Regions from separate parts of the Homo sapiens genome. Here regions 2, 3, 4, 5, 6 and 7 are each linked to region 1. Evidence: promoter capture Hi-C in human tissues and cell types (Jung and others, 2019). All regions are on one chromosome and are shown on one strand. Each heading gives the region's core, a stretch centred on a gene start or on the middle of the fragment in contact. The rest is flanking DNA. Distances are from core to core; before and after follow the strand shown. Region 1 holds the start of TEX19 (testis expressed 19). Region 2 holds the start of ZNF750 (zinc finger protein 750). Region 3 overlaps TBCD (tubulin folding cofactor D). Region 4 holds the start of FN3K (fructosamine 3 kinase). Region 5 holds the start of RAB40B (RAB40B, member RAS oncogene family). Region 6 holds the start of MIR4525 (microRNA 4525). Region 7 holds the start of WDR45B (WD repeat domain 45B).

Region 1 (4,293 bases), core at 516-3,015:
AACCTGAGGGAAACTGGGGAAAACTGAGGGAACCTGAGGGAAACTGGGGGAACCTGAGGGAAACTGAGGGAACCTGAGGGAAACTGGGGGAACCTGAGGGAAACTTGAGGGAAACTGGGGGAAACTGAGGGAACCTGAGGGAAACTGGGGGAACCTGAGGGAAACTGGGGGAAACTGAGGGAACCTGAGGGAAACTGGGGGAACCTGAGGGAAACTGGGGGAACCTGAGGGAAACTTGAGGGAAACTGGGGGAACCTGAGGGAAACTGGGGGAACCTGAGGGAAACTTGAGGGAAACTGAGGGAACCTGAGGGAAACTGGGGGAACCTGAGGGAAACTTGAGGGAACCCGAGGGAACCTGAGGGAAACTGGGGGAACCTGAGGGAAACTGAGGGAACCTGAGGGAAACTGGGGGAACCTGAGGGAAACTGGGGGAACCTGAGGGAAACTTGAGGGAAACTGGGGGAAACTGAGGGAAACTGGGGGAACCTGAGGGAAACTGAGGGAACCTGAGGGAACCTGAGGGAAACTGGGGGAACCTGAGGGAAACTTGAGGGAACCTGAGGGAAACTGGGGGAACCTGAGGGAAACTGAGGGAACCTGAGGGAAACTGGGGGAACCTGAGGGAAACTTGAGGGAAACTGGGGGAAACTGAGGGAAACTGGGGGAACCTGAGGGAAACTGAGGGAACCTGAGGGAAACTGGGGGAACCTGAGGGAAACTGGGGGAAACTGGGGGAACCTGAGGGAACCTGAGGGAAACTGGGGGAACCTGAGGGAAACTTGAGGGAAACTGGGGGAAACTGGGGGAACCTGGGGGAAACTGGGGGAACCTGAGGGAAACTGAGGGAACCTGAGGGAAACTGGGGGAACCTGAGGGAAACTTGAGGGAAACTGAGGGAACCTGAGGGAAACTGGGGGAACCTGAGGGAAACTTGAGGGAAACTGGGGGAAACTGGGGGAACCTGGGGGAAACTGGGGGAACCTGAGGGAACCTGAGGGAAACTGGGGGAACCTGAGGGAAACTTGAGGGAAACTGAGGGAACCTGAGGGAAACTGGGGGAACCTGAGGGAAACTTGAGGGAAACTGAGGGAAACTGGGGGAACCTGAGGGAAACTGGGGGAACCCGAGGGAAACTTGAGGGAAACTGGGGGAACCTGAGGGGAACTTGAGGGAAACTGGGGGAACCTGAGGGAAACTGGGGGAAACTGAGGGGAACTTGAGGGAAACTGAGGGAACCTGAGGGAAGCTGGGGGAAACTGAGGGAACCTGAGGGAAACTGAGGGAAATTTGAGGGAAACTGGGGGAAACTGAGGGAAACTTGAGGGAAACTGAGGGAACCTGAGGGAAACTGGGGGAACCTGAGGGAAGCTGAGGGAAACTTGAGGGAAACTGGGGGAACCTGAGGGAAACTTGAGGGAAACTGAGGGAACCTGAGGGAAACTGAGGGAAACTTGAGGGAAACTGAGGGAACCTGAGGGAAACTGAGGGAACCTGAGGGAAACTGAGGGAAACTTGAGGGAAACTGAGGGAACCTGAGGGAAACTGAGGGAAATTTGAGGGAACTTGGAGAACCTTAGGGAACCTGAGGGAAACTGAGGGAAATTTGAGGGAAACTGAGGGAACCTGAGGAATCCTGGCCCCGCTTCAGCCTCCCAACCCCTCACCCAGCACCAGGCCGTGTCTCCGAGACCCCTCCTCAGAGACCCCTCCTCGGGAGATCTCACCATCCTGGTGTCTCTGTTCATGTGGGCACCCAGGGAAAGGAGGAGGCAGAGCCCATTTGGGTATATAAAGGGCCATTTCCCATGGTGCTCTGGGCTCATCTGCATATCTCCCATGAGCCTCAGTTTCCAGGAAATGAAAGTGCTGAGTCACCAGCTCCCTCCAAGGAGGGCCATGTGCAGCCCCTGGGCACCTGCAGGAAGGCCCTGGAGAGGCAGCTCCTCTGGGGGCTGGAGATTGGGGTGGGTGCTCTCCGTCTGCAGGCTGGCACAGGGTGAGCATCCAGCCTGTGGTTGCTGGCCCGTCGTGGGCACGACGTCCTGGTCCTGCCGCGTTTGTAAAACGTGATCCCTGCTTTGCTGTCTCTGTCTTAAAGTTCTCTGAATTTTAAGAACCAGCCAATTGTCAATTAGTTATTGTTTAAACACATTTTCCCCTTTGTGGTTCATCTCTTCGCTCTTTAAACAAGACGCTTATAAATTAACACTTGTTTTTTCAGTAGACTCTATTTTTTACAGCAGTTTTAGGTTCATAGCAAAATTGAGCCAAAAGCATGGAGCTCTCCCACCGCTCCCCTGCTCCTGCAGGTGCACAGCCTTCCCCAGTCCTCCCGTCCCAGCCATTTGTTACACGTTGTTATTATCATCATCGCCCTCTGCAGTTTCCATTATGCTTTCCTCCGGTGCTGTGCATTCTGCAGGTTTGGACACATGTATAATCATGCAGACCCACCACTCTAATATTGTACAGACGGGTTTCTCCGCCCCGATTCATCTGTGTTCTGCATTTTCATCACTCCCTCTCCCAGCCCCTGGCAACCAGGAATCTTTTGACTGTCTCCTTAATTTTGCCTTTTCCAAAATGTCACAGAGCTGGACTCATACATTATGTAGCCTTTTCAACTTCTTTTTTAGTAATACGCACTTTGGTTCTTCCATGTCTTTTGTGGTTTGATAGTTCACTTCTTTTTTTTTTTTTTTTTTTTTTTGAGACAGAGTCTTGCTCTGTCACCCAGGCTGGAATGCACTGGTGAAATCACAGCTACTACAGCCTCAACCTCCTGGGCTCCTGTGATTTTCTCACCTCAGCCTCCCAAATAGCTGGGACTACAGGTGCTGGTGCACACCCCGATAAGTTTTGTATTTTTTGTGAGACAGGGCCTCACCATGTTGCCCACACTGGTATCAAACACTTGGGCTCAAGTGATCCGCCTGCCTCTGCCTCCCACAGTGCTGGGATTACAGACGTGAGCCACCTTGCATGGCCAGCTCACTTATTTTTTAACACTGAATGGTATTCCATTGTCTGGATGTACCATGGTTTATTTATCCATTCACCTATGGAAAGACATCTTGGTTGCTCCCAGGTTTGGGCAATTATGAATAAAGCTACTACAAATATTCATGTGCAGGTGTCTGTAGACATAAGTTCTCAACTCATTTTGGTAAACTCTAAGGAGTGAGATTGCTGGATGCTGTGGTCAGAGTGTGTTTAGTTTTGTAAGAAAGTGACAAATTGTCTCACACAGTGGCCCTGTGGGAGGAACCCCCAAACCCTTTCCCTACATCCCCATGACCTCTGCTCCTCCCCACCTGGCAGCTGTCTGTGCCTGGCTCAGGTCATCCACACACCTGGGGCTGCCTGCCACCCCCACCAGGTTAGGGCTCAGATCAGGGCCACCCCTCACCCTGGGGCTTCCTCGTCCCAGTCCTGGGATAGGGGCAGGTGTGGGGCTTTGGCTGCCAGGTGTCCTGCTGTGGGTGGAGAGGGCAGTGAGCTCATTCCCTAAAGACTCGGGTGCCTGAGCTGTCTGGCTGGTCCCCTCAGGTGAGAGGAAAGTAGTGGTTGAGGGACCCCACAGAGAAGCCTGTTTATGGGTCTGGGGGTCAGAGGCTCCCGGGAGGAGCCCCCAGGTCCTGGTTTTCTCTGAAAAGGCCACTCAAGGCCTCGGGGCTGAGCTGTGGCTGCCCTGGCCAGAAGGGGGCCGGGGAGGGAGCCCTGCACCTGTCGTGAACACTCAGGGCTGGGCCAGTGGGCGCCTGGAGGATGAGGTCCCTCCCACCTGGCCCCTCCCAGCCTCAGTTCTCAGGACACAGCCCAGCCGGCAGCTGCCAGAGTCACTGCCTAAAGGAGGTTTTGACCGAGGAGCAGCAGAGCCCTCTGAGGGCCCCTGTGGTAAGCAGGCTCCTCGCTGGTTTGCATGGCTTTTTCACACAGTAGTTGCGTCGAGAATTTAATATGCTGCGACCTCGTTGCCAGCAGGAGCGGTGTGGGACCGGGAAGCTGACGGGGAAGTGTTGGCGGGTGCAGGGCAGCGTCCACTCTGGGAAGCTGTGGCCAGCGCGTCCTGGCCAGCCAGGGCCTGGGCAGGGACTTGCCTCTCGGGCCTCGGCCTCACCCTGGTCTGAGAGTGTAGGACCCTCTCAAGGTCCTCAGTCACCTCAGCAGCCTGGGACGGAGCCTTTGGATCGCTTCCTGGGCAGCTGGGTACAGGAGAGGCCACTTGAGACAGATGTTGGGATGGACAGCTGGATTTGAGGCCCAGAGGGAAACCGTGGCAAGACTTGGT
Region 2 (4,293 bases), core at 1,124-3,623, 480 kb before region 1:
AGAGGGGGAGAGAGGGCACAGAACCACCAACAGATCAGTAAGGCTGGAATCGAGGAGGTAAACACCCAGCCAGGCGCTGGGATAAGCTCCCTCCCTGCCGTCTCAGCTCCCAAGGAGGACCAGGGACAGAGACTCTCAGGAGCAGGGTAGAGGGTGGAAGGTACACAGATTCTCAAAGGCCTCACTGGACCCTCCATGGCAAGGGTCAGAACACTCAGCTTAGGAAAGGCCAAGGTGGGGCTTCCGGGCAGAGGGAGTCGTAGCGCAGACACCTGGCACTCCTGCCGCTGAGAGGTGGAGCCCTCGGCTCCCGCCTTGCATCTGGGCAGCACGAGGCTGCCTCAGCAGAGAAAGGTGACAGAAGGGACACCCTGACAATCTGCGGCCCAGCCTTCTGGAGGACTGGAACCTTCCGCCTTGCTCTCTTGAAGTCCTGAGCCATCATACAGCTGACCACCCTGCTAGGGAGGCCTCTGAAGTGCTACTAAGTGAGGATGAGGTTCCAGCTGATCTCAGGATTCCAGCTGCCCCTCCAGGACAGAAGGCAGGTGAGTAAAGCTGTCCTGGACCCTCCAGACCAGTCACCTGCCAGCTTTCTCCCACGGAGCCACCTCAGTCAGTGTCCATGAAACAGAAGCAGCACTCGGCCAGGCCCTCCACAAACTCCTGACACAATATATCCTAAGACGTAATAAAACGGTGCTTGTTTTAAGCCACTAAGTTTGGGATAGTTTGCTATCCAGGAATAGGTAAGAGGGACAGGGAACTGCTGTTTTTTGTCATAAGACTTACATAACTCTTTTTGACTTCATAAAGTATATGGATGTCTCAATGGACAAAAGCCACCAAAAAAAATTTTAAGGTATTAAACCATCCTAGGAAACATGGCAAAACCCTGTCTCTACAAAAAATTCTCCAGGCATAGTGACCGTGCCTGTAGTCCCAGCTACTGGGGAGACTGAGGCGGGAGGATCACTCGAGTCCAGGAGGTTGAGGCTACAGTGAACCGTGATCGCACCACTGCACTCCAGCTTGGGTGACAGGGCAAGACCCTGTCTCAAAAGAAAAAAAAAAGGAATTAAATATAAAAGTAAACGCAAAGCCATGTAAAATCTTAAGTCTTAAGGAAAAAAATAACAAAAACAAAAAAACAGACCGGGTGCAGTGGCTCACACCTGTAATCCAAGCACTTTGGGAGGCCGACGTGGGTGGATCACAAGGTCAGGAGATCAAGACCATCCTGGCTAACACGGTGAAACCCCATCTCTACTAAAAATACAAAAAATTAGCCGGGCGTGGTGGCAGGCGCCTGTAGTCCCAGCTACTCGGGAGGCTGAGGCAGGAGAAACGCAGTGAGCCAAGATCATGCCATTGCACTCCAGCCTGGGCAGCAACAGTGAAACTCTGTCTCAAAAAAAAAAAAAAAAAAAAAAAAAAAAACCAGTTTGTCTGTCCTGGCCAGCTCGTCCCTATGCCACAGCCCTGCAGCCTCTGCCCTGCAGCCTCAGGCTCATCCAAGGGCCTGACACCAGCTCATCCCACCTCCTTTCCCAGTCCTCAAACCGACACCACATGCCAGCCTTCGCTACAACTGGGGTGCGGCCTCCGATTAAGCAAGCAAGCAGTTTTGGTGGGGGGGTGTGGAGGTAAAAACTGGCCCCCAAGTTAAGTGCCTCTGCAATTTAAAGTGGGGGGAGGGTGGTTTGCGGGAGTGCACAGCTGGCCCCCTCCCCCGCACCCACACACCCTGCTCCGCAGCTCTTGCGGTGCCTGGTGTCGGGCAAGCTCCGGCAGGTCCCTGCAGCCAGGCTCTGGGATAAGCTCCCTCCCTGCCGGCTCAGCTCCTGAGGAGGACCAGGGACAGAGACTCTCAGGAGCAGGGTAGAGGGTGGAAGGTCCACAGATCCTCAAAGGCCTCACTGGACCTCATGGCAAGGACGCCATGAATACTGTGCCTCCCAGGGTATGCGCGCTTGAGAATCAATCCAAGTGTTTGCCTCCTGCGTACACATGCTCAAGTTCTAAAGGAAAGTCTCACATGTCTTTATCATGACGCCAAATATTCATCGGGTGTGATTCTGATGAATATAGTAATCTCTATTCTAACTGCGGACACATCGAAAGCCCTCTGACATATGGCCGTCCAGGCAGCACCGACGCCGCACTCACAGACAGTTGAGTCTGGAGACAGCGCTGGGAGTCGGCGAGATAACTTGCTTGCTGGGTCCAGTGCTGGGGAGGCTGCCCGCAGCAGCTCGGTGGGTGCAAACACATGAATCGTAGCTGCGGGCAGGAGGAATATCAGGTGCATCTCTACGCCCCGAGGGCTCAACTCCTACACTTAAATCCCTCCCACTGGAACAGCAGGCTCCAGTTTCACCCAGCAAGCGTGAGAACAGGTACTGCTTCCTGAGCACCGCCAGCCACCGGCACCAAGACCGGCCACATCCCAGCACTGCCCACCTCTGGTAAGTACTCACTATTTCTTTTCAAATTCAAGTTTTATTTTAAAACTCTTCTCAGACGTATCTAAAATACCCAGCTGAACGCAGCGTTTGCTCCGTGTCTGCTCTGCCTTGCTCTGGGCTCCGAGGATTACTCAGGACCCAGCAGGTGCATGGCTGGGATGCAGACCACGATTACAAAACTTCTAATGAGGCTGACACTTTATTCTAAGAACATGAACAAGCTTATCTGGAAATTAACTCCTTGTTCTGCCCTAAAATTCATAAAAGTTAAACCAACACAAATTCATATTATTGCTTAACTGCTCCTAACCTCAAAAACAAACTACAATAAATGCTAACAAGAGGTAAGGGTCATATATATATGTGTGGTGTATGTACATTAGGGTGAATTTAGGGTTATATGTGTGGTGTATGTACATTAGGGCTGAATTTAGGGTTATATATATGTGTGGTGTATGTACATTAGGCTGAATTTAGGGTTATATATGTGTGGTGTATGTACATTAGGGCTGAATTTAGGGTTATATATATGTGTGGTGTATGTACATTAGGCTGAATTTAGGGTTATATATATGTGTGTGTGGTATATGTACATTAGGCTGAATTTAGGGTTATATATGTGTGGTATAAGTACATCAGGCTGAATTTAGGGTTATATATATGTGTGGTGTATACACATTAGACACAGCTGAATTTAGGGTTATATGTTTGTGGTGTATGCACATTAGACAGTGCCGAATTTACTATCTAGTTTAACTTTTAATAGTTTTAAAGTTTAAAATAAGTACATAAGCTTACATGAAGTTTAAAATTGGGCATAAGCTTTCGAAAACAAAACCAAACCAAAGGGGTTAAGTTTCTGTTTGGTTGTTAAGGTCTTCTGTACATATAGACACAGATACAAAAGGGTTTTTTTCCTTATATGAAATTTCTCATAAACTTGATTTGGAGGAGAACAATTACTGACCAAGCACAGTCCGTCCACATCTGTGCCCCTAATTTTCACTGCGCATTAGCAAAGGCCTTCCAGCATTTCTGACCGGAGTTTCAGGATGAGGCGGCGACTGTAAAGTGGTGAGCGTTTGTTTACGAGCTCAGGTCTGTAACTCGGGATCTCCTGCCGAAACTAGAGTTAAGAGCCCCTGGTTGTTTTTCTGGATCCATTCTTCCAAATTACATTCCCAAAGACTGTCTTTTCCCCAGGTCTTGGTTGTCCTGAGGTTTATCTTTCATTTTAAAGAACCGAAAGGCTGGGAGGGAGTGGCAGTCAATCACTGGAAAAGCTCAATTGGAGTAAAACTCACAAATCTCGTTCTTGCGACATCACAGTGGGTAGGCGACAATGGTGTGTCCTTGAGTTATGCAACAACGCCACATCACAATATTGTAATTACAGCATGCCCTTCACAATGCTCCAGCCGAGCAGGCTCCTTGCCAGACAGCTGGACACCACCAAAAGGAACATTACAGCACAATCTCAGGGCACAGGTTAGGACGCATGACAAGCATAGTTACCCAGCCTGTCACAGAAACGTCCCATAAAGTTAAACTGTAATTACTTCCGCTGTGTCCTATCAAAGTTTTTTTTTTTAAGAACTCTTTCTCTTGTCTATTTTTCAAAGTTCAAACTCCTTAGAAGCTTGTTAAGCATCCCAACTTCTCACTATTACCCTAACAACTGTCTGCTGCATTAACTGTCCACACTTAGGAACCTTTGGAAAGACAGTATATTGGCAATTTAGACACAACCCCATGGCCAACCGAAACCACTCACTCTTCAAAGCACTGTCTGTGTGGGCAGCTACGCCCCAACACCCGGCCCAGT
Region 3 (4,293 bases), core at 1,001-3,500, 460 kb before region 1:
AGAGCAAATTTGTTATACATATTTTGCCACAATTTTCTAAGTAATAATAGAATATTCTAAAAACCATGGAACTATATATTTTAAATGGGTGAATTATATGGTAGACGAATTACATATCAATAAAGCTGAAAAAAAATAAAGGATCCTTGAATTCACATGTAAGAGAAGATGCCGACAACGCCCTTTCTAAACAGTCTTAACGGGGGCCCACTGCCGTCTGCCCCCACCAGTGTTAACGTTCAGCCAAAATGCCACGTTCTACAGGGAGGGAGGGAGGGAGAGCAGGGCGGAGTGCAACACGAAACACACACGTTCACACAAGGAAAAAAACACCATTAACACAAAAAAAGAACAATCGGTCCACGTACAAAGTCAAAGATGTCTCATGCTTTGCATTTTCCTGAAAACCTGAAAGCTTAAAAGCCTACCAAGATTAAACAAGCCAACAAAAACAGGCGGGGAACTGGACACTGGGGCCATGTCAGGACGTGCTCAGACCCAACCTCTCCCAGGGCCCCTTGATCACCTGGGAACTGAGGTACACAGGCCTGCAGGGGGCAGCAGGGTCAGGCCAGGCCACAGCCAGGGCTGGACAGACAGCAGGGCCCCCCACAAGAGCCTGAGCCAGCCTCGGCACTGAGCCCCAACGGCTCTACCAGGGAGGGAATGCCCTGTCCCTAGACCTCAGCTGGAGCTGCTCTCCTGGAATTTACCATCCACCTCAGTGCTCCAGAGCCTGTGAGGAAACTCTGGTCCTCCACCCCTTCCCCCTCTCAGAATCGGACTCCTCTCCTATAAAATATCCCTTCTGAAGGAGCCTCTGCGGGTTTCCATGTCGGCTGCTTCCTCCCCTTTTCTCCACCTCCCCATGCCAGTGAGCCTGGGAACCCGGTTCAAGCTTTTCCACCCATTCACCTTCCTCATCTCTCACTCCCTCCTGTGTGAACTCATCAATCCATAACTTTGTAGACCATTACTATGTGGAAGGCTCCAACATGTCACTCACTGACCTTACTATCTCACTCTCTTTCACTGAATAGAACAGCAAAGTCGTTGAGTTCAGAATCCTACATGCAGCGTATTTCCTTTTCTCTTTCTTCACAGCTCTGGTCTCACTCCGAACACTGTGGTGGCTCCCGAATGGCCTCACTCTCCCTCGCTCTTCCTTTCCACTGCACCCCCGTGTATTCCCCAGTATCTGACTTTATGTTGAATAATTTCCAAACCCCTCACTGTGTTCCTGAAGCCCCTCTAGGATCTGGCCCCCAGGCGCTTTTCTGTGCCCACTCTTCTGCTCTTTCCGCTGTCCCAGCTCGTGCGAGCCTTCGTTCCTCTTTGAGATGCTGCGGTCAGGAGTCCATCCTGCTCGGCTCCTTCACGGTAGAAGCTCTCAGCGTAAATGTCGCCCCAGGAGGTCTTCCCCAAGTCTTATTCAAGTCACTGGTTGGCCCCATCACTGAGGATCTCACCGCCCTTTTGTATTTTCTTAACGACTTTATCCATTCTCTGAAATTGCTCCCTTCGTTTCCTTGTTTAATGTCTGAATCTCCCTCCAAACCCTGTCCCCTTCACCGTCACAGAAACGCTGTGTCCTCACCTCAACTGCCAAGAGCAGTGGGCGCCAATCGCACTTGTCATAGGAAGTACGTGCAGAGTTTTCGTCATCCAGAGAGAAAAACATGACAGTTTCTTTTGGAAGCCAGAAAACACAGTCCACAGGTGGGAATTAATCTACTGAATGGTGCTTTTAACAAGACCCCAAGGCAGCTGCAGCAACATCGTCGTAAGACGCTGCTTGTACGTCTTCGATGAACACTGAGAGCGTGTGCTCCAATGCAACTCTGTACATTTTTCAAAATTTATAACATTTATATAAACTTATAAAAATTTAATGTTTATTAAAATTTTTTCGAAATTTATAAAATGTATTATACATTTAAAAATTTTCTCAAAACATCACCTTAGATAAGAGTTAGGCAGTCTGTATTTCCGACATGCAGGGCTTACTACCTGATGCAGGTTCACAGGGACCTTGAGCCTCCTAGCAGTAAAACAAACATGCTCTCCAACCTTCAGAAAGTTGCAGGAAGGTTAGAATGGGCTTCTCTGTGGCTTTGGGACACCAGACCATTACACTTTATAAGACATGGGGTGACAGACTGCACCTTCTGGGGGAAGGGGTAGGCCTCCTTGAGAGGGGGCAGTGAAGGACCCCAGCCTGAAGATTGCATAGGGAGCTTCCTAAGTTTGAGGGAAGGCAGGAGAAAAGCTTTGTAGATGCTAATTTAACAGAGACCTGCTTTAGCCACACAGTGGGTATAAACAGACCTATGTCACCAACACAGCCCTCAAATCTGTTATTTGGGAAACACATATGCAAAGATTTCTTCCTTTTTAGGCTTTAAAGCAAAGGTTAAGTGCTGGGAAGCAAGTGTGAGCCACTGTGCTCAGTCTTAGACAAAAATATGCTCACAGATCTCAAGAAAACTGTGGACAAAGAACTAAAGGAGACCAAAAGAACAACATTTAAACTAACATGGAATGTTGATAAAGAGACAGAAATTATAAAAACAGGCTGGGCACAGCAGCTCACTCCTATAATCCCAAGGCAGGCCAAGGCAGGAAGATCACTTGAGTCCAAGAATTTGAAAGCAGTCTGGACAATAAAGTGAGATCCTGTTTCTACAATTTTTTTTTCCAGTGCAGCAGGCCTGTGGTCTCAGCTACTCAGGAGGCTGAGGCGGGAGAGCTGCTTGGGCCTGGGAGGTTGAGGCTGCAGTAAGCCGTGATACCACCACTGCACTCCAGCCTGGGCGACAGAGCAAGACCCTGTCTCAAAAAGAAATTATTAAAAGAGAAACTAAAGAGAAATTCTGGAACTGAGGACTCAACAGCTGAAATGAGTGCAGAACCTAAGAGACTCATAGGGCACCATCAAGCTTACCAACATGTATATTAACACAACAAGAGGACTCAACAGCTGAAATGAGCACAGAACCTAAGAGACTCATAGGGCACCATCAAGCTTACCAACATGTGTATTAACATAACAAGAGGACTCAAGAGCTGAAATGAGGGCAGAACCTAAGAAACTCATAGGGCACCATCAAGCGTACCAACATGTGTATTAACATAACAAGAAGACTCAAGAGCTGAAATGAGTGCAAAACCTAAGAGACTCATAGGGTACCACCAAGAGTACCAACATGTGTATTAACATAACAAGAGTCCCACAAGGAGAGGAGAGGGGCAGCAAAAATACCTGAAGAAACAATGACTGAAAACTACCCGAGTTTGATGAAAGACATGAATCTACACATCCAAGCTCAGAAAAACACCAAGTGCTAGTTATTATTACCCAAATCAATATGCACAATTCTCAATCAATAAGGATAGCAAGGGAAATAGGGTTCATACAAAATGTCCAAAGAGATCAGAACACTTGACATTTTTCAAAAAGCAAAATACTGATGAAAACCACAAAATGCATAATAAGGAGCACATGTATACATTTTATCAAAATAGTACAGTTGGCTGGGCGCAGTGCCTCACGCCTGTAATCCCAGCACTTTGGGAAGCCAAGGCAGGCAGATCACTTGAGGTCAGGAGTTCGAGACCAGCCTGGCCAACATGGAGAAATCTGGTCTCTACTAAAAATAAAAAAATTGGCTGGGCATGGTGGCGGGCGCCTGACTCCCAGCTACTCGGGAGGCTGAGTCATGAGAATCACTTGAACCTGGGAGATGGAGCTGGCAGTGAGCCAAGAGGGCGCCACTGCACTCCAGCCTGGGCAACAGAGCAAGACTCTGTCTCAAAAAAAGAAAAAAAAAAAAAAGGTAAACTTAAACCAATACATCCCCCCACCTGTGCTTCTTGTATCCAACAAAGGAAACCGTAAGGGTTCACAAACATTGTAGGAGCTTACTCATGGTGAGGAGTGCCCACCTCCTCCTGCCACAACAACAGAGGTGTTCAAAGAGGAGCCACAAAAAAGGTGAAAGGACCTACGCCAGGACCACTCAAGAAAAGTCCTGGAATTTGAATCACCTAAAATAAAGACCAAGTAGCCCTTTAACAGTAGTCCTCAAACAGAGGTGATGATGCAAAGAGAAAAAGAACATGGCCCACTGTCCACAGGCCGAGGCAGGAGGATCGCGTGAGTGCAGCACTGCGATCATGGCTCACTGCAGCCTCAACCTCCTGGACTCAAGCAATTCTCCCACCTCAACCTCCTGAGTAGCTGGGACTGCACCCAACTACCTTTTTAAAACAATTTTTGTAGAAACAGGATCT
Region 4 (4,293 bases), core at 501-3,000, 380 kb before region 1:
GTCCGTCTCAAAAAAAAAGAGATGGAATTTCACCATGATGGCCAGGCTGGTCTCAAACTCCTGGCCTCAAGTGATCCACCTTTCCTCAGTCGCCCAAAGTGTAGGACTGCATGTTTAAAAAAATCAAACCTCATGAATGAGACCAAAGCATCTGCTGGTGCACACGAACAGAACGCCCTTTCCTTCAAAGTACCCCAGGGAAAGCCCAGGCACAGCCTCCCCAGCCTGGCAGCCCTGGCCAGCCTGCACCGAGGGTGGGTGTGAGTGTCCACAGGTGGGAGGGCGGCCGGCACACCCCAGCCCTGCTCCAGGGCGAGCCCCCCATGCACCAGGCCAGGAACTCCCGGCCTTGGGGCTGCTAAGCCCCAGGGGCCCCAGCATCACCTGCTCTTATGCATGGACTGAGCAGCTACTATGTGCCGGCCCCTCGTGGGGGTGGGAGGGAAGGAGGGGTCTCACCCTGCAGAGCTTTCAGGACCAGCTGAGGAAGTTTCCCAGAGCCCGTGGGAAGCCTGAACCAAAAACTGCTTCCCTGTGAGTAGGACTCCCCACTTTGAGGGATTTGGTTCTGAGCCGGCAGAGCAGGTGATGCCGGAGGATCCGATCGCACGCCCAGGCTGCATGGCTCTGGTGTTCCTCCTGCCAGCACTCCCCACCAGGACCCCTGCTGCCCCTCAGAGAGCTCCCCCACCAGAGTGTGCAGGGCCTTCTGAGCCCACTCGGGCCGGGAGGGCACCCAGGCCTGCCTTTCTCCACCTGCCGGCTCTCAAGGCTGAAGCTAACCTTCTCCACTTCCTCCGTTAACATTTTCCATACTTTTTTTTTTTTGAGACGGAGTTTCCCTCTTGTTGCCCAGGCTGGAGTGCAATGGCGCGATCTTGGCTCACTGCAACCTCCATCTCCTGGGTTCAAGCAATTCTCCTGCCTCAGCCTCCCGAGTAGCTGGGATTACAGGCCAGTGGCACCACATCCGGCTAATTATTGCATTTTTTGGTAGAGACGGGGTTTCACCATGTTGGCCAGGATGGTCTCGAACTCCTGACCTCAGGGATCCACTCACCTCGGCCTCCCAAAGTGATGGGATTACAGGTGTGAACCACCGCGCCCGGCCTTCCATACATTCTTAAACAGAACTATTTTCAGCAGGAGATAGAAATCAGGTCTAAACACAGACAAGGCCTGTGGGAAGGAGAACGCTGGCCTGGCCCGTGGGGTCCCTGCCAGGGGCCCAGCCATGTCTCTGCTTCTTTCCCACTGCCAGGAGGACGGTGGGCTGAGAGGGGCGGCCCAGAGCTGAGCCAAGGACCCCAAGCCTCACATCCCCCGACGCTTGCTGGATAGGAAAGTTAAAACCACCCCTAGAAGCCTGTGCGCTGCGCATGGAGGCCAAAGGAAGGTCACGGATCGTGCAGACACAAACCTTCACAGAACGCTTGAGCCGGGCTCACCCAGCAGGTGCCACCTCCCAAGGGCCAAAGCTGACCCCTCCCCAGGCCCAGCCCCAGGAAATGCGCCTGCCCCCGACCCCTCCGCCTTCCCAGGCCCCGCAGAGACCCGCAGAGCCCCCGCCTGCGCACGGGCCAGCACCTGCGTCCTGCGGTTGACTTTGACGAACACTGGGCCTGCGTCCGTGTCGTAGGCTCGGCCCTCGCTGATGCAGCCGGCGCCGGGGCCGCCGAAGGCCCGCAGGGTCGCGGTGCGCAGCTCGGCGCGCAGCAGCTGCTCCATGGAGTGCGGGGCGCGGGACTCTGCTCGCTCGGAAGCCCCTGTCGGCTGAGGCGCTGCGGGGCGGGGCGGGGCGGGAGCGCGCGGCGCGTGACCCCGGGCGGCGGGAGGGGCGGCCTCAGGCGGGCTCGCCGCGCGCTCCCCGCGTTCGTCCGGCTTCGCGCTTCCTGCGCCCGGGATTCGGGGGAAGCAGCCGGGAGTCCGCGCAGCTCTTCGCGGGCGCGCTGGGGCTTGAGCTCCCTGCAGGGACCCGGTATCCCTGCCCCGCAGCGGACGCAGGTCCGGCCCTCGGCCCGGGCGCTGGTCACAGGCCTGGCCGGCTTCCCACACTGCAGACCAGGCCGGGCCCAGCGGCCCCCGTGATGACGTGGGGCTTGCGCACTGGGACGCCAGGTGCCGATCGGAGAGAGAGGCTGACGTGGGGGCTCCGATGGCACGCGCTGACCCGGCCCAGGGTGGGGCTGCTGATTCCAGGATGTCCTGGGAAAGGGACTTGAGACACAGGAATGCCCACGCGCGCCCATGCATGCATACACGTGGGTACACACGCGTGCACACGAGCAGGTGCGCACCTGAGCCCAGTCCGTGCTGAAGTCATTTGACGTGAGGTTTTTTTATTGTTTGTTTTTTGTGTTTTTAAGAGATGGAGTCTCTGTCTCCCAGGCTGCAGTGCAGTGGCGCGATCTCGGCTCACTGCAAGCTCCGCCTCCCGGGTTCAAGCCATTCTCCTGCCTCAGCCTCCCGAGTAGCTGGGACTACAGGCGCCCGCCACCACGCCCGGCTAATATTTTTGTATGTTTTAGTGGAGACAGGGTTTCACCCTGTGAGCCAGGATGGTCTCAATCTCCTAACCTCGTGATCCACCCGCTCGGCCTCCCAAAGTGCTGGGATTACAGGCGTCAAGCCACCGGCCCGGCCTGCCCAGCTACATTTTGTAGTTTTAGTAGACATGGGGTTTCCCCATGTTGGCCAGGTGACCTGCGTGCCTCAGCCTCCCAAAGTGCTGGGATTACAGCCGTGAACCACCACGCCCGGCCATGCATGAGGTTTTAATCAATAAATCTGTTTTTTTTAGGGCCCCAACAATTGTCTTTTCCCACAGAGATGCAGGGGTCCTGCCGCGGGGAGGGAGCCTTTGGGAGCTGCCTATCCCCGCGGTCCTGCCCACTTGCTCAGCTGGGCTGGGGTCATCGGGAGGCTCCTTAACTCCTACATCTGGCACCTCGGCCAGGATCACTGGAACCTGGGCTTAGCGGTCACTGTCAAGCAGGACATGTCCATGTGGCCTCCTGGTGTGGCCTGAGCTTCCCTGAACATGGAGGCCAGGTTCCAAGAGTGAGCACTGGGAGAGCCAGAGCTCCCAGAGAGCTGGCAGAAGCAAAGGCCTTTTCTGACCTGGCCTCAGAAGCCACACACCATCATTTCCACCTCCTTCCATCGGTCTCCAAAGCCGCAATCAAGGCAAGGGGATCCGCAGCCACCTCTTTTTTTTTTTTGAAACAGGGTCTTGCTCTGTCACCCAGGCTGAAGTGCAATCTCGGCTCACTGCAACCTCCACCTCCCGGGTTCAAGCGATTCTCCTACCTCAGCTTCCTGAGTAGCTGGGATTACAGGCACGCGTCACCACGCCCCGCTAATTTTTGTATTTTTAGTAGAGACGGGGTTTCACCATGTTGGCCAGGATGGTCTCAAACTCCTGGCCTCAGGTGATCCGCCTGCCTCAGCCTCCCAATGTGCTGGGATTACACATGGCACCCGGCCAAGCAGCCACCTCTTGACAGGAGTGGCAGGGCTGCCGCAGAACAGCAGGTAGGACAGGAGGATGACTGTGGTGTCTGCAGAAAGGGCATGTGCCAGTCCCTGGCTTTTTCTCATCTGAAGCCCACCCTGCTATCGCATCTTGACAGAAGGTTCCTGACAGGCCAGTGTGAGCTCTCGTACGTCTGTAAATTTCTTTCTTCCTAGTTGACAGTTTGGCTGGGTATCAAATTCCAGCTTGGAGATCAGACCATGTTCTTTAGGAACCAAGAAGCTGCCAGCTCCAGTTTTGATGTTGAGAAGCTTATGGCCATTTCAGTTCTTATTCTTTGTGTGGAAACTGTTCTATCTCTGCAGGCTTTTAGGGTCTTCTCTGTGACACCAGTGAAAAATTCCCCAGGGAGGTGTCAGGGTGAGTCTCCTGTCATCCCCTGAACAGGACTGGTGGGTCCTCCAATCCTGGGACAGCTTTTAGCCCTTCATGGCGTTCTCCCTCTGTATTCTTGGTTCTCTTTTTTGGAATTCCAACACTGTGGTCTAGAGTCAGTCCTCTCTGTTACTGCCTCAAAGCCCCTTGTAATTTTTCTTCATACAACTCATGAGTCTACAGTCAGATATTAGGCGTCACACAGAGAACCATACGAGTGCTCAGGTCTCTCAGTGAGAAGAGGTGCCTGAATGAAGAAACAGATATGCAGGCACCAGGCTAGGAAGTCCTCTATGTGGGGGGTTAAGAGCTGTTGAAGATTCAAGGGCAGGGCAGTTAAGTGATCCCAAGTTTCTTAGAGAATTAGTAGAGTAAATTGTATG
Region 5 (4,293 bases), core at 1,011-3,510, 340 kb before region 1:
TTGGGGCAAGAAGATGGACACCATATCTGAACACAGCCCTCTTCTGACGTGGTTATTTTACCTGGCCCTCCAGGTGGGAGTGGCCATGTTCCAGCTCAGCCAAGGCCAGCTTGGAGGTGACAACTAGGAGGTGGTGAGGACCTTCTGTGGGGCAGGAGAAGAGCAGACAAGGGCTCCCCCATCACCTGTCCTCTGTAGGAAGTGGTCTGGCCACCCCTCTCCATGCCCCACCGTGAACACTGCTGGACTGCTGGGTGTGACCCCGAGGGTGGGCTGGGGGCCTCCTGACCCCTATTGTACAGTGAGTCTGGATGTGTAGGTGGGGAGCGAGCAAAAGAAGGTACCCTTTCCTCACTAGGTAATAGCCATGTGACCCACAGCTGATTGGAACATGGAGACTGAGGGTTAGGGATGGGAAGGAAACTCCCCTGAATTCTTTTTGGCAGAGTGGTGGGGCTGGGGACTAAATGCCATCTTTCTCATAGTTTTCTAGCGTCCACCTTCCATCCTCTTTTCTTCCTCTGACCTTCCTTCTAAAAAAAAACAGTGCTGCAATCCCAGCATTTTGGGAGGCCGAGGTCGATCACTTGAGGTCAGGAGTCAAAGACCAGCCTGGCCAACATGGCAAAATCCCATCTCTACTAAAAATGCAAAAATTAGCTGGGTGTGGTGGCACATGCCTGTAATCCTAGCTACTTGGGAGGCTTGAATCCAGGAGGTGGAAGTTGCAGTGAGCCAAGATTACATCACTGCACTCCAGCCTGGGCAACAGAGCAAGACTCTGTCTCAAAAAAAAAAAAATGTGGCTGCATTAGTAACTAAAGCAACTAATCAACCAATGAATAACAGGTGTTGCAAACTAAATTGGCATTCCAAAGTAAACATTTTCTAGGTCCAAATGAATGCAAATGACAAATATAATAATCTTGACTTCAGTCTCTTTTGTAATTCTTCTTCCGCTCCCTCTTCTGTTCCTCCCCCACAAAAAACTTCTAATGGGGTCTAGAGCAGTTCCCTACACAACGCAGGGTGGAGGGGATGAAGTAGTGGGGGCATTATCCTTCTTCTTGGACGGAGCTCGCCCTTTGCCTGCTGCCTGAATTCTGCACCAAATAAACCAATGTGCACCTGGTGAGACCCTCAGAGCGAAGGGCAGACCTCGGCCTGGCAACCCTTGCTCTCTAGAGCAGAGGAGAAGCCAAAAGGCTGGAGGGTCCCACCCAATGCTCTCCTCCAGCACGCACGCAAACACATGCATGGATGCACAAACAAGCGCACGCACACATAGGAGCGCATGCATAGAAGCAGCACACGCAGACACACACATGCAAAGATGCCTGCAAAGGCACACATGCACACGCACATACATGTGCAGACACCTGCAGAGGCACACATGCACACGCAGACACACAGATGTGCAGACATCTGCAGAGGGACACATGCACACGCACATACATGTGCAGACACCTGCAGAGGGACACATGCACACGCAGACACATAGATGTGCAGACACCTGCAGAGGGACACATGCACACGCAGACACATACATGTGCAGATATCTGCAGAGGCACACATGCACACGCAGACATGCACACACACGAACACATGCACACGTACACAGGCGCATGTGCACACACAGGCATTCAGGCACGCCGCGTAAATGGGGCAACGACGAGGCCCTGGATGAACCGTGGGGAGAGACCGCGAGCCTGGATTCTACGGCGACAGGGACTCCTCCGGCGAGGCGGCCTGCGGGGGCCTTCCGGCCGCGTCCGCCAACTGGACCGACCCCGAGCCCCACCCGGCCAGGCACCCGAGGTCTCCCTGGTGGGCAGGTGGGGAGGCCCCACGCTGGGACCCTGCACCGCCCCTCGCCCCTCCCGACTCGGGGCGTGCAGACCCGACGACCGTGGGAGCGAGTTCGTGGCGCTCACGGGCGCACGCGAGAGTGTAAACACCCGGCCCCACCCCCTGATCGCCCCCACCCCGCCCCGCCATTGGCTGCGGGAGCAGAGTCCCCGCCTCCTGCTTGTTCTGGCTCCGCCCCTGCCCCGTCTCCGGGCCTCCATTGGCTGTGGTGACAGCGACCTTTCAGGAGGGGCGGGTGGGCGACAGCCCGGAGGCGGTGACGAGAGTAAGATGGACGGACAACCAAGCCAGTGAAAGCGCGCAGCTGCCCTAGCAACTGCGGTCCACCAATGGCGGGGCCGGGCGGGGATGCGCGCTGTCAGCGCTGGGCGGCGGGGCGGGGCCGGAGGCGAGCAAGGACTCGGGGCCCGCGCGGCGCCTCTCGGGGCCGGGCCGCCGCCTCTGCGCTCAGCCCCGCAGGCCGGGCATGGGTGGGGGCGCCGGGCCGTCACGATGAGCGCCCTGGGCAGCCCGGTCCGGGCCTACGACTTTCTGCTCAAGTTCCTGCTGGTGGGCGACAGCGACGTGGGCAAGGGCGAGATCCTGGCGAGCCTGCAGGATGGCGCGGCCGAGTCCCCGTACGGCCACCCGGCGGGTGAGCGCGGGCGGAGGGCGTGCCGGGGTGCGGGCGCGGGGCCGGGGAGGGGCGCGGGGCTGGGGAGGGGGTGCGGGTGGGGGTCCGGGTCCGGGGACGCGAGACCGGGCAGGGGTCGGGAAGAGGCCGGGGCGCGTGGCCGGGGAGGGTAGGAGTCCCGGTCCGGGGGCGCGGGGCTGAGGAGGAGCGCGGTTCGCGGGCGGGCCTTTCTCCGCCCGGCCCTGGCCCTCGTGCTGCGGCGTCCCTGTTGCACCCCCAGTTCCACTCGAGGCCCCGCGGCGCAGTCTCCATCCTTCTCCGCAGTCTGCGCGCAGCGGGAGCCCGCGGCTGGGCCGGGCGCTGGGCTCCTCCCGACCTGGGGCCGCTGCTGTGGGGACCCGGGGCGGGGGCTCGAGTCCGCAAGTGCGCGTTCGGCCGCGGGGCAGGAGGGGCGGGAGGGGACGCGAGCTCCGGGGCTCCTGGGGCGGAGCGCGGCGAGCAGGCGCCCAGGTGCTGGGTCTGCGCGTGGGTCGGAGGGGAGGGGAGACCAGGGTCCGGTCCCGAGGCCAGGGGTCCCGCGTGTCCGGGGGAGAGGAAGGAGCACAGGTGACTCGCGTGCGGAAGAGGGGACCCCCCACGACAGCGGCCGGAGAGCGGGTTCCAGGGCGAGGGGAGGCCGGAGCGCCCAGAGCTCCCAGGCAGGCAGCCCGGGGATCCCCCAAGTTTGAGGCTTGAAAGCCGGCGCCCGGCGAGGGGGTGGACGGCTCCGGGGAAAGAAAGGCGGGGGCAGGAACCCAGGAGAAGGGGGAACGCGCAGAGGCGAACACCTCGGCTGGGAGTGAGGAGCAGGCGGGGCCTTCACCCACGCGCATCCCTGGAACAGCTTGGACGAGGCCGACCCTGAGGCTGTGGAAGGAGCCCAGCCTGTGCCCACCTTCCTGCCGCGCCTCGGGGCTGAACCCACGCTTCCAACAGAGACCCGCTCTGAGTCCTGGGCGGAGGAGGGCAGCCGGGCGTGGAGATGGAGTCTTGGTGGGAAGGACCTGTCAGCTCTGGGGCCTGGGAAGGGTCTGGGAAGCCCCAGGTCCAGGGTCCTGCCAGAGACGAACTTAGCGGGAGAGGGTGGGAGGAAGCGGGATCTGAGGCTGCTCGGTAGAGGGTGCAGGCTGTCCCCTAAGGGCAGCTCCAGGCAGGCGGCGTGAGCACCAAGGGAGTGTGGCACGGCTGGAGGGGGTGGCCTGAGACTGTGGAGCGTGGGGTGGGACTCAGGTGCCCGGCCACACCTCAGCTTAGGGGACGGGGTGAGGAATGGGCAGAGTTTGGGGGAGCAGCTGAGATGGGCTTGGGCTCACGACCAGCACCCAGAGGCCTCCTGAAACTGCAGCATGCGGGGGAGTCTCTGGCAGCTGGTGGGTGCAGAGTGTGCTCCGTGGGGCAGGAGGGGAGCCTGCGTCTCTACCTGTCCCCAGGCGCCGCTGCCCCCGCATGTCCTACCCCCCTCCCCGCTCGGTGGCAGGTCTCTAGGACCGTGGTGTCCAGTAGGATGCCATGAGCCACGTGTGGCTGTGGAAGTGTAATTAGAAGGAAAGAAAACAAAAAGCTTCCATTCGTCACATTTCTAGATAGTTCGGATGTCGCTGTGGCAAAGTCCGAGGGCCAGCGCTGCCCTGGAGATTGAGCGCCTGGAGGACAGGGCTGGAGATTGAGCGCCTGGAGGACAGGGCTGGAGATTGAGCGCCTGGAGGACAGGGCTGGAGATTGAGCGCCTGGAGGACAGGGCTGGAGATTGAGCGCCTGGAGGACAGGGCTGG
Region 6 (4,293 bases), core at 1,030-3,529, 310 kb before region 1:
TGTGTGTGTTAGGGTTACAGGGTTGGGGTGTGTCAGTGAGTACAGGGAGCGTGTGAGTGTGTGTTAGAGTTACGGGGGTGGGGTGTGTCAGTGAGTACAGGATGTGTGTGACTGTGTGTGTTGGAGTTACAGGGGTGGGGTGTGTCAGTGACCGAGAGCTACATTTTCATCTTCTGTAGTGGAAAGTCAGTGGATGCCTAAAACTGAAATGTCAGGAAGTAGGAATGTAAGTATGTTCTTCATCAATCTGGAGATGCATAGCAAAAGAAGTTATTTTAAAGGATTAAAATGGGGAAGGGAGACAGGGGTTCGGGTGGGCCAGGGTCCAACATCGTGGATCGTGACAGCACTTCAGACTGTGAGCATCCATGACTCCATGAAAACAGAAACGAAAGATGGTTTTGAAACTCGTAGGGCGCTTAAAAAGACCATCAGGAAGCCGGGCGCGGTACCTCACACCTGTAATCCCAGCATTTTGGGAGGCCAAGGCGTGCAGATTACAAGGTCAGGAGTTGGAGACCAGCCTGGCCAATATGGTAAAACCCAGTCTCTACTAAAAATACAAAAATGAGCCGGGCGTGGTGGTGGGCGCCTATAATCCCAGCTACTCAGGAGGCTGAGACAGGAGAATCCCTTGAACCCGGGAGGCGGAGGTTACAATGAGCTGAGATCGCGCCACTGCACTCCAGCCTGGGCGACAGAGTAAGACTCCGTCTCAAAAAAAAAAAAAAAAAATCAGGAATTCTTTTACATTTATGAACACATTTTAAAGTTGTTTGGCCCTTGGCTGGGCGTGGTGGCTCATGCCTATAATCCTAGCACTTTGGGAGGCCAAGGCAGGTGGATTACCTGAGGTCAGGAGTTCGCAACCAACCTGGATAACATGGTAAAACCCCGTGTCTACTAAAAGTACACAAATTAGCTTGGCTTGCTGGCGTGTGCCTGTAATTCCAGCTACACGGGACGCTGAGGCACGAGAATTGCTTGAACCCGGTGGGCGGAGGTTGCAGTGAGCGAGATCACGTCACTGCACTCCAGGCTGGGTGAGAGAGCGAGACTCTGTCTCAAAAAAAAAAAAAAAAAAAAAAAAAGATTGTTGGCCCTCAAGGACAGGTCAAGAGGATACTTTCTAAGTCAGAGGACCCAGCCAAGCTCAGGCAGTGGATTAATCTCCGGAAAGACAAATATGAGCCTCTCAGCCCGTGGGGGTGAGTGTCCCTTCGTCTGGAGACAGACATATCAAAGCTGGAGTTATCTCCGCATTCGAAAATAGATTCCCAAGTGTATTCGTTCATTGCCTCGTGCCTGCCAAGGGAAAATAAATATTTCCAAAATTCTCTTTGAGGATTGCTATTATGGAGCAAATATGTATGTTCTTTTTTAATTTATTGTTTGTGTTTCACGCTCAGTGTGTTCATTGCTGACGGCTGCAGGACTTGGCACATGATGGTGCCTTCCCGAGAGCTTAGTAGGGTTTTAAAGGACTGTGAAGAGATTTTTGGTCGTCGCTCAAAGCGTAATTTCACAGGGCCTGAAGCTCCCGCGCTGGGGCTAGTAGAACTATCTAGTTGGAAGGCTCCAGAAAAGTGTTTTTGTCTCCTTTTACATTTTTTTTTAGAGACAGAGTCTCACTCTGTCACCCAGGCTGGAGTGCAGTGGCACGATCATAGTTGACTGCAGTCTCCAACTCCCGGGTTCAAGAGATCCTTCCACCTCAGCCTCCTGAGAAGCTGGGACGACAGGTGTGCACCACCATGATTGGCCAATTTTTTTATTTTTTATTTTTATTTTTTTGAGACAGAGTTTCGCTCTTGTTGCCCAGGCTGGAGTGAAATGGTGTGATCTCGGCTCACCACAACCTCCACCTCCCAGGTTCAAGCAATTCTCCTGCCTCAGCCTCCTGAGTAGCTGGGATTACAGGCACCCGCCACCACGCCCGGCTAATTTCGTATTTTTAGCAGAGACAAGGTTTCTCCATGTTGGTCAGGCTGCTCTCGAACTCCTGACCTCAGGTGATCCACCCCGCTCGGCCTCCCAAAGTGCTGGGATTACAGGCGTGAGCCACCGCGCCCAGGCCCTAATTTTTAAATTTTTTGTAGAGATGAGGTCTCACCATGTTGCCCAGGCTGGTTTCGAATTCCTGGGCTCAAGCGATCCTCTCACCTTAACCTCCCAAAGAACTGGGATTACAGGCGTGAGCCACCGTGCCTGGCTATTTTCCTTTCTGTAAAAGGACTGTTTCCTTGATACTCACTTGGTCACCTGGGAAAACCACAGCAGTGTGGTTTTGGTCTGACAGCAATGGAGGCTACGCCGCGTGCCCCACTGTGGTGAGGTCAAGCTCCTGGTGCTAAGATGCTGATGGTAGCAGTGGCCCATCTAGAGTGGCTGCTGCCAAGATGCCGGCTGCAGCGGAGGCATGGCTGGGCCTCTCGATCCACGGATCAGGCAGCAGCTCCGCCTTCCCTGCGTGCCGCGGCCCGCTGCCCTGGGGCAGCTCTAGACGCGGGCGTCTCTGTGCTCTTGGAGGCCTGGGAAGGCCACCCCTGCCCCCTGCAGGCTTAGAAGTGCCTGCTCCAAATGCCTGGCCTCTCCTCACTCCCCACGCCCGCTCCAGTCGTGGAGCACAGTTGGGGCTGAGCCCAGGTGCTGCTGCAGACCATCCGGGTGGGTCCACACTTGGGGCAGCACGGACACACCAGCCCTTGCCACCTCAGCCCCCTCGGGACTGGGCGCTGTTGAACATGGGAGGGAAGCTGAGGGAGGGCTGAGGGTGGCTCAGTGCTGGCCTGCAGGCGCCCCTTGGCATGAACAAGCTGGGTGCCATGAACAGCAGTGGGAGGCAGACAGACTTCTGGGTGGAAGGGGGCAGGTCCCTGGTGAAGCCACACCTTGAAGCTTCAAGGGGGCCTGGGGCCCGGGCTGCCAGTCCTGCAGACTGGAAGGAGGACTCGGTGCTTTTGTCAGAGGGGGGATGTGCATGCTGGTTGGGGTGGGCTGCCTGTGGACCAATCAGCGTGCACTTCCCCACCCTGAAGACCACAAAAACCCCAGACTCAGAGCAACGCGGACGTCGGGATGACCAGCTGCGGAGAGCTACCCTGTCTGCTGAGAGCTGAACACTTGTCAGGACGACCTGCCTGCAGAGAGAAGCCACCCACTGTGGGTCTCCCCTGAGCTGTTCTAACACTCAGTAAAGCTCCTCCTCGTCTCGCTCACCCTCCACTTGTCTGGGTACCTCATTCTTCCTGGATGCAGGACAATAATTCAGCAGCCACAGAGGTTTCCAGCCGGAAGAGCAACATCCCAAAGGCCCCATCAGTGCCCCGTCAGCGCCCATGCCAAGAAGAGAGAGACAGACGGTGCACTCAGCGTGCCTGCTGGGCTCGGTGGCAAACGTTTGGCCAGCTCAGGAAAGCCTCGTACTGGGTGGGTCAGGGGACTGCTTGGCCGCTCTGTCTGAGCCTCATCACGGGGCAGGTGGCGTCTGCAAAGCGGGTGCTTCGGGCGTTCTCAGTGCTGCTGTATCTTTTGTCCTCTGAATCACTCTCCTCTGACGGGGGGAGTTTGCTCTGGTGTTGCTTGGTCTAATCTACCTGGTGGCGTGATGGGCAGTCTCTGTGGACAGAGTGTGGAGTTTAGCAGGAGACAGAGGAGGATGCGGGAAGCCTGGACTCCATGTCTCTGGGGCTCTGGTGGCACCACAGAAAGAGCCTCTGGAGTCCAGGAAGGGGGCAGGGCCCGGAGGAGGAAGCAGAGGGCAGGGGACAGGCTGGACACAGCAGCTGTGGGAGGGAGGGGTGCTCGGGATCTCATGGAAGGCGCTGCACAGGTGTGCTCAGATCAGGCAGGTGTGCCATGCACGTGCTCATGGCTGCATCAGTGGAAAGTGGAGGACAGAGGCCCAGAGCTGCTGCAACGCCCAGGCCTGCCTGAAGATGTGGGCGACCAGCTGTCCAAGCCAAGTGGGAGGCCACCGGTGGCACCGCCACTGCACACCTCGCTCTGCCCGACAGGAGACCAGGAACTCGGCACACTGCCTCCTGGGATGCAGGGGGGCTTGTGGCCAAGTCCAAGGGTTCTAGACCCTTCGAGGGGGCAGAAGCTGCTTGAGAACCGTGGCCTCCGCAGCCTCGCATTTTTAGAGGAGCCTGTTTCTGGGCACTCACTGGCTACATCGTGGGCTTCTCTGGAAGGAGAGCTGCAGAGGCCGTGTGCTCCACGACGGTCTCCAGGGTGAGGTCTGGTGCGAGCCTCGGCGCTGCTTCTCCCCTCGGCCTCTCAGCGGCGCGC
Region 7 (4,293 bases), core at 900-3,399, 290 kb before region 1:
TCAGTTCAGTGCAGCCTCAGCCTCAATCTCCTGGGCTCAAGCCATCCTCCCTCCTCAGCCCCCCAGGACACATCTTTAGAGGGTCACCATTCAACGCACTGTGGTGGGCAAGGCTGCTTTGAGTTTCCTGGTTAGGATACAACCAGCGCTGTGTGTGGATGTCCACACATGCCCCCGCCCCCGGCTGTACAGCCACCGGGAGACTGAGTAAAATGTGAACTGAAGGAGGCCCCAAGGGTGGCAAGCAGAGAAATGAAGGGAAATGTCCCTTACCCACGCCTCTCTCCTTCCCCCACGTGACACTTCTCACAGCAGGTACCGGTACGTGTGCACAGAGGAGAACCCAGTGCCCTTCAGGGAAGAGGGTGCTGAGCCCCTGGACCGCACTTAGGTCTCGCCCCAGCTCTGTGATTTGGACCTGGGCCCCCGAGCCCTAGTCACAGCCGGGGCGGCCCAACTCGCTCCGCCATCGGAAGGCTTCTGGTCGCTCTCAGGGAGGAGCCCCTCTCGTATGGGAATCGAGGTGTTCAATGCCCACGATGCGGAGACCGCCTGGCCCGAGTGGGCCAGTGATCTCAGCTTACAGTCCAGCTCCTTCCTCCCCATGGCTAAGAGGTCAGCACCAGCTCAGGCAAGTGGCGAGGGTGGGATGAGGATGACAGACGGGGTGGAGGCAGGTGGCTGCGAGGGGACAGTGTCAGGACCTCCTAGGAGATCAGGTGTGCTGCAGGGAACAGGGAGAGCCTAGGAGGGGACAGGAAAGTGAGGAGGGGGAGTGGAGAGGACTCCCTGGGCAAGAGACACGAGGGCCAGCACTCAGGCCTCCACAGCCATCCACTGCATGAGCCAAGCCCAGGGACAAAGCTCTGTGACCAGGATGCCCCCAGCAGCCTGACCCTAAGAGTTGAGAACTGTGCCCTGTGAGCAATGTGACCTGAGGGTCCCGGAGTCCTGCGGGGGCTGTGCTGTGTGAGGGCCACCTGTCCTTTAGGTGGGGTACTAAGGGGTTGTGTCCTCTATGGGCTGTGTCGTGGGGGGGCTGTGTGTCCTCTGGGGGGCTATGTGTCCTGGGAAGGTCCCTGTGTCCTGGGAAGGTCTCTGTGACCTGGCGGTCTGTGTGTCCTGGGGGGGCTGTGTGTCTTAGGGGGACCTCTGTGTCTTCTGGGGGAATATGTGCCCTGGAAAGGACTCTGTGTACTGGGGGAGGCTGTGTGTCTTAGGGGGGCTGTGTCCTGGGGGGGTTTCTGTGTCCCGGGGGGGCTGTGTGTCCTGGGAGTGCTGTGTCCTGGGGGACCTCTGTGTCCTGGGGGCACTGTGTGTCCTGGGGGGACCTCTGTGTCCTGGAGACTGCGTGTCTTGGGGGTCCTCTGTGTCCTGGGGGGTCTCTGTCCTGGGGACTGTGTGTCTTGGGCACCCTCTGCGTCCTGCAGGAGCTGCGTGTCCTGGGGGGGCTGAGTGACTTGGGGGCCCTCTGTGTCCTGGGGGTCTCTGTCTCCTGAAGGGGGACCCTAGTATTGTGGCGCTTCTGGGCTTGCCTCTCATGAGGGATGATGCACCGGGCCTCAGTTTTGGGTCAGCCTCCTTTACCGGCTCTCCCCCCTTCCTCCGACCGTCAGGTATCCGTGCCAAGCCCTCAACGGGCCATCCTCCTTCCCGCGGCGACCCCGCGCATGACAAGGCCAGACCCTCCCGCGAACGTGCTCTGCGCTCCCGCCTGGCCCCTCCCCGCCCCGCCCCTCCCCCTCCTCCCCGCCCCGCCTCGCTCCGCCCCTCCCCGCCTCCGCCCCGCCCCGCCCGCCCTGCCTCTCCCCGCCTTTCCTCGCCTCGCCCCGCCCCGCCCCGCCCCCTCCTCCCCGCCCCGCCTCGCTCCGCCTCTCCCCGCCTCATCCCGCCCCGCCCGCCCTGCCTCTCCCCGCCTCATCCCGCCCCGCCCGCCCTGCCTCTCCCCGCCTTTCCTCGCCTCGCCTCGCCTCGCCCCGCCCCGCCCCTCCCCGCCCTGCCTCGCCTCGTCTCGCCTCGCTTCGGTTAGATGCGCTCGGCGCTCCATAGGCTCCCTGGTGGGGCGCGGGCGCGCGCACGGACGTCCAGCACGCACGCACGCACGTCCAGCACACACGCACATCCAGCACGCACGCACGTACGTCCGGCACTTCCGGCCGCGGCGGCCTCAGCGCCGGCCCGAAGGGACCAGGCCGCCGTCCCCAGCGAGAGGCATGCAGCGCTGAGGAGCGGCGACCCAGCACGGCGGCGCCATGAACCTCCTGCCGTGTAACCCTCACGGCAACGGGCTGCTCTACGCCGGCTTCAACCAGGACCACGGTGAGGAGGCGCGGCCCTGTCGCCTTGCCCGGCCGGGCCTTCCCGCAGCCCGGGGTCCCCGGCTCTCAGGCCTCTCCTGGGCGCCCCTTTCCGGCCAGGCCTTCCACCCGGGACCCCGGCCCCGCCCGAGCTCCCCTCCGAAGCCCCCGGCCCCGGCCCTCGCCGCTGCTCCCAGCCCGAGCCGGGGTCCGGACCAGGCCCGAACCGGCTCCCACCTTCCTGGCCTTTCGCGCTCCCCCACCCCCCGGGTTGTGACCGCTCCCAGCCGGCCGTCCCGGGCCGAGGTCGAGGTCGGTGGGAGACGGCACAGAACCCCAGCCTCCTGCGCGGACGCCCCTCCCCGCGCGCCACGCCCACTCGGGTTCCCTGGCTCCCTGCGGGCTCCACGGTTATCGGGATTTTCCCCACAGCGTGATTGACGCCCTGCCCAGAACCCCGTTTTGCCCCCTGTTCCTTTCAGGGTCTTTAGTAGGTAGCCCGTGGCTGAGCTGACTTCGCTTGGGTTTACTGGAGCCGCGGAGCCGGCGTCTCCGACGCCTCTGGTGGCGAGTGGCGCGGGTGGGGTGCAGGTCTCACCTTTCCCGTCGGTTTCCATCGGAAAATGTCACTCTCCCCACCCCCACTCCCCGGGATTTTTCTTCGTGTTTGGTGGAGTCAAAGGACTTAAGGGAGGCCTTTGAGGGAAATCTTACTTCTTTTCCCATGTCGGAATCCAGGTGTAAGCACTGGATGATTTAAAGCGCCCAGGGAAGGTGACCTCCTTCCCCGCAGGTGCTTCGGAGCTGCGGGGGATGCGGCCGGGGCGGCGCGGTCGGATTCCCGCGGGAGGCGGGCGGGACCTGGATTCGGATGGTTGCCTCCTCACCTCCCATTTGAAGGGCGCGCTTCCCAAAGGTCCTGATGGGGAGGAAAAGGAATGTCCGTTATTCCGAGACAGGCTTCTGCGAGGCTTTACATGTTGGCTTTGGAAGTTTTGTTTTTGAAGAGAATCCAGGCAGGTGCTGTATGATCCCGTATATGTGAAGACAATTTTATTTATTTATTTATTTCATTTTGAGACGGAGTCTCATTCTGTCGCCCAGCCTGGTGCGATCTCGACTCACTGCAACCTCCTCCTCCCGGGTTCACGCCATTCTCCTGCCTCAGGCTCCTGAGTAGCTGGGATTACAGGCGCCTGCCTCCACGCCCGGCTACTTTTTGTATTTTTAGTAGAGACGGGGTTTCACCATGTTGGCCAGGCTGGTCTCAATCTGACCTCAGGTGATCCACCCGCCTCGGCCTCCCAAAGTGCTGGGATTACAGGCGTGAGCCACTGCGCCCGGCCGGATTACACATATTTGAAAGAACTCCCTCTCAGTGATTTTGATGCCTGATGCCCTGGGACCAGTCAGGCTTCCTGGGCGCTGCCAGCTTCCCCAGGGTTGTGTGCTGGGGTTTCTCCGGAAGAAAGTTTTGCTGAGATGGTAAGGGAGATGCCTAGCCTTCTCAGAGGGTGGTTTCCAACCATCTGGTGTTTGTAATGCCTTCTTTTTAGTGAAGTGTGCTATACCTGTAGAAGGGTGGATATATCATAAGTGTTCAGGTGATGAATTTTCCAAACTACACACCTGTCACTAACAATTAAGAAATTGAATATACCTGGCCACGCTTGATTCCAATAAATGCTCCCTACCTGACTTGTGACATCATAGATTAGTTTTGCCTACTTCTGTACTTTATTTTTGTACTTATTTTTGTTTCTAGCTGTTTTTTTGTTTTGGGTTTTTTTTTTTTTTTTTTTTTTTTGAGACGGAGTTTTCGCTCTTGTTGCCCAGGCTGGAGTGCAATGGCGCGTTCTAGGCTCACTGCAAACTCCGCCTCTCAGGTTCAAGCAATTCTCCTGTCTCAGCCTCCCGAGTAGCTGAGATTACAGGCATGCACCACCATGCCTGGCTAATTTTGTATTTTTAGTAGAGACTGGGTTTCTCCGTGTTG

Evidence for each region. The method cuts DNA at HindIII sites, captures the fragments that hold promoters and counts their contacts. A contact is called where the count stands out against the background at its distance.
Region 2: the fragment with the promoter of ZNF750 here is called in contact with the fragment with the promoter of TEX19 in region 1 in 4 of the 25 tissues and cell types used here (adrenal gland, bladder, dorsolateral prefrontal cortex and 1 more).
Region 3: a fragment that was not itself captured here is called in contact with the fragment with the promoter of TEX19 in region 1 in 4 of the 25 tissues and cell types used here (dorsolateral prefrontal cortex, lymphoblastoid cells, mesenchymal stem cells and 1 more).
Region 4: a contact is called between the fragment with the promoter of FN3K here and the fragment with the promoter of TEX19 in region 1, in 4 of the 25 tissues and cell types used here (IMR-90 fibroblasts, aorta, bladder and 1 more).
Region 5: the fragment with the promoter of RAB40B here is called in contact with the fragment with the promoter of TEX19 in region 1 in 2 of the 25 tissues and cell types used here (dorsolateral prefrontal cortex and spleen).
Region 6: a fragment that was not itself captured here is called in contact with the fragment with the promoter of TEX19 in region 1 in 1 of the 25 tissues and cell types used here (lymphoblastoid cells).
Region 7: the fragment with the promoter of WDR45B here is called in contact with the fragment with the promoter of TEX19 in region 1 in 4 of the 25 tissues and cell types used here (IMR-90 fibroblasts, dorsolateral prefrontal cortex, lymphoblastoid cells and 1 more).

The regions. Positions count from the first base shown.
Region 1 is chr17:82,356,719-82,361,011 of GRCh38, reverse strand. It overlaps TEX19 (testis expressed 19), which reads right to left and starts at 1,765. Exons shown (of 2, transcript NM_207459.4): 1 at 1,727-1,765. RefSeq lists a silencer at 285-579 and an enhancer at 4,188-4,293. The HindIII fragment of the contact is 14,968 bases long and covers 1-4,293 here.
Region 2 is chr17:82,838,102-82,842,394 of GRCh38, reverse strand. It overlaps ZNF750 (zinc finger protein 750), which reads left to right and starts at 2,373. Exons shown (of 3, transcript NM_024702.3): 1 at 2,373-2,468. The region is part of intron 13 of TBCD (tubulin folding cofactor D); the gene reads right to left. The HindIII fragment of the contact is 7,618 bases long and covers 1-2,975 here.
Region 3 is chr17:82,819,517-82,823,809 of GRCh38, reverse strand. All of the region lies in intron 13 of TBCD (tubulin folding cofactor D), which reads right to left. Among named protein-coding and RNA genes, the nearest start is that of ZNF750, 18 kb to the left of the region's middle. The HindIII fragment of the contact is 3,186 bases long and covers 658-3,843 here.
Region 4 is chr17:82,733,072-82,737,364 of GRCh38, reverse strand. FN3K (fructosamine 3 kinase) reads right to left here and starts at 1,750. Exons shown (of 6, transcript NM_022158.4): 1 at 1,588-1,750. The coding sequence starts at 1,728. RefSeq lists enhancers at 1-581, 582-1,294, 2,007-2,719. The HindIII fragment of the contact is 14,087 bases long and covers 1-4,293 here.
Region 5 is chr17:82,696,665-82,700,957 of GRCh38, reverse strand. RAB40B (RAB40B, member RAS oncogene family) reads left to right here and starts at 2,260. Exons shown (of 6, transcript NM_006822.3): 1 at 2,260-2,503. The coding sequence starts at 2,362. RefSeq lists silencers at 1,692-2,081, 2,102-2,531. The HindIII fragment of the contact is 28,650 bases long and covers 1-4,293 here.
Region 6 is chr17:82,666,977-82,671,269 of GRCh38, reverse strand. The region is part of intron 1 of RAB40B (RAB40B, member RAS oncogene family); the gene reads left to right. It overlaps MIR4525 (microRNA 4525), which reads left to right and starts at 2,963; the gene lies at 2,963-3,037. RefSeq lists an enhancer at 2,309-2,488. The HindIII fragment of the contact is 8,732 bases long and covers 1-4,293 here.
Region 7 is chr17:82,646,300-82,650,592 of GRCh38, reverse strand. WDR45B (WD repeat domain 45B) reads left to right here and starts at 2,149. Exons shown (of 10, transcript NM_019613.4): 1 at 2,149-2,319. The coding sequence starts at 2,253. RefSeq lists enhancers at 1,557-1,626, 2,005-2,504 and silencers at 1,917-1,986, 2,587-2,636, 2,647-2,696. The HindIII fragment of the contact is 22,392 bases long and covers 1-4,293 here.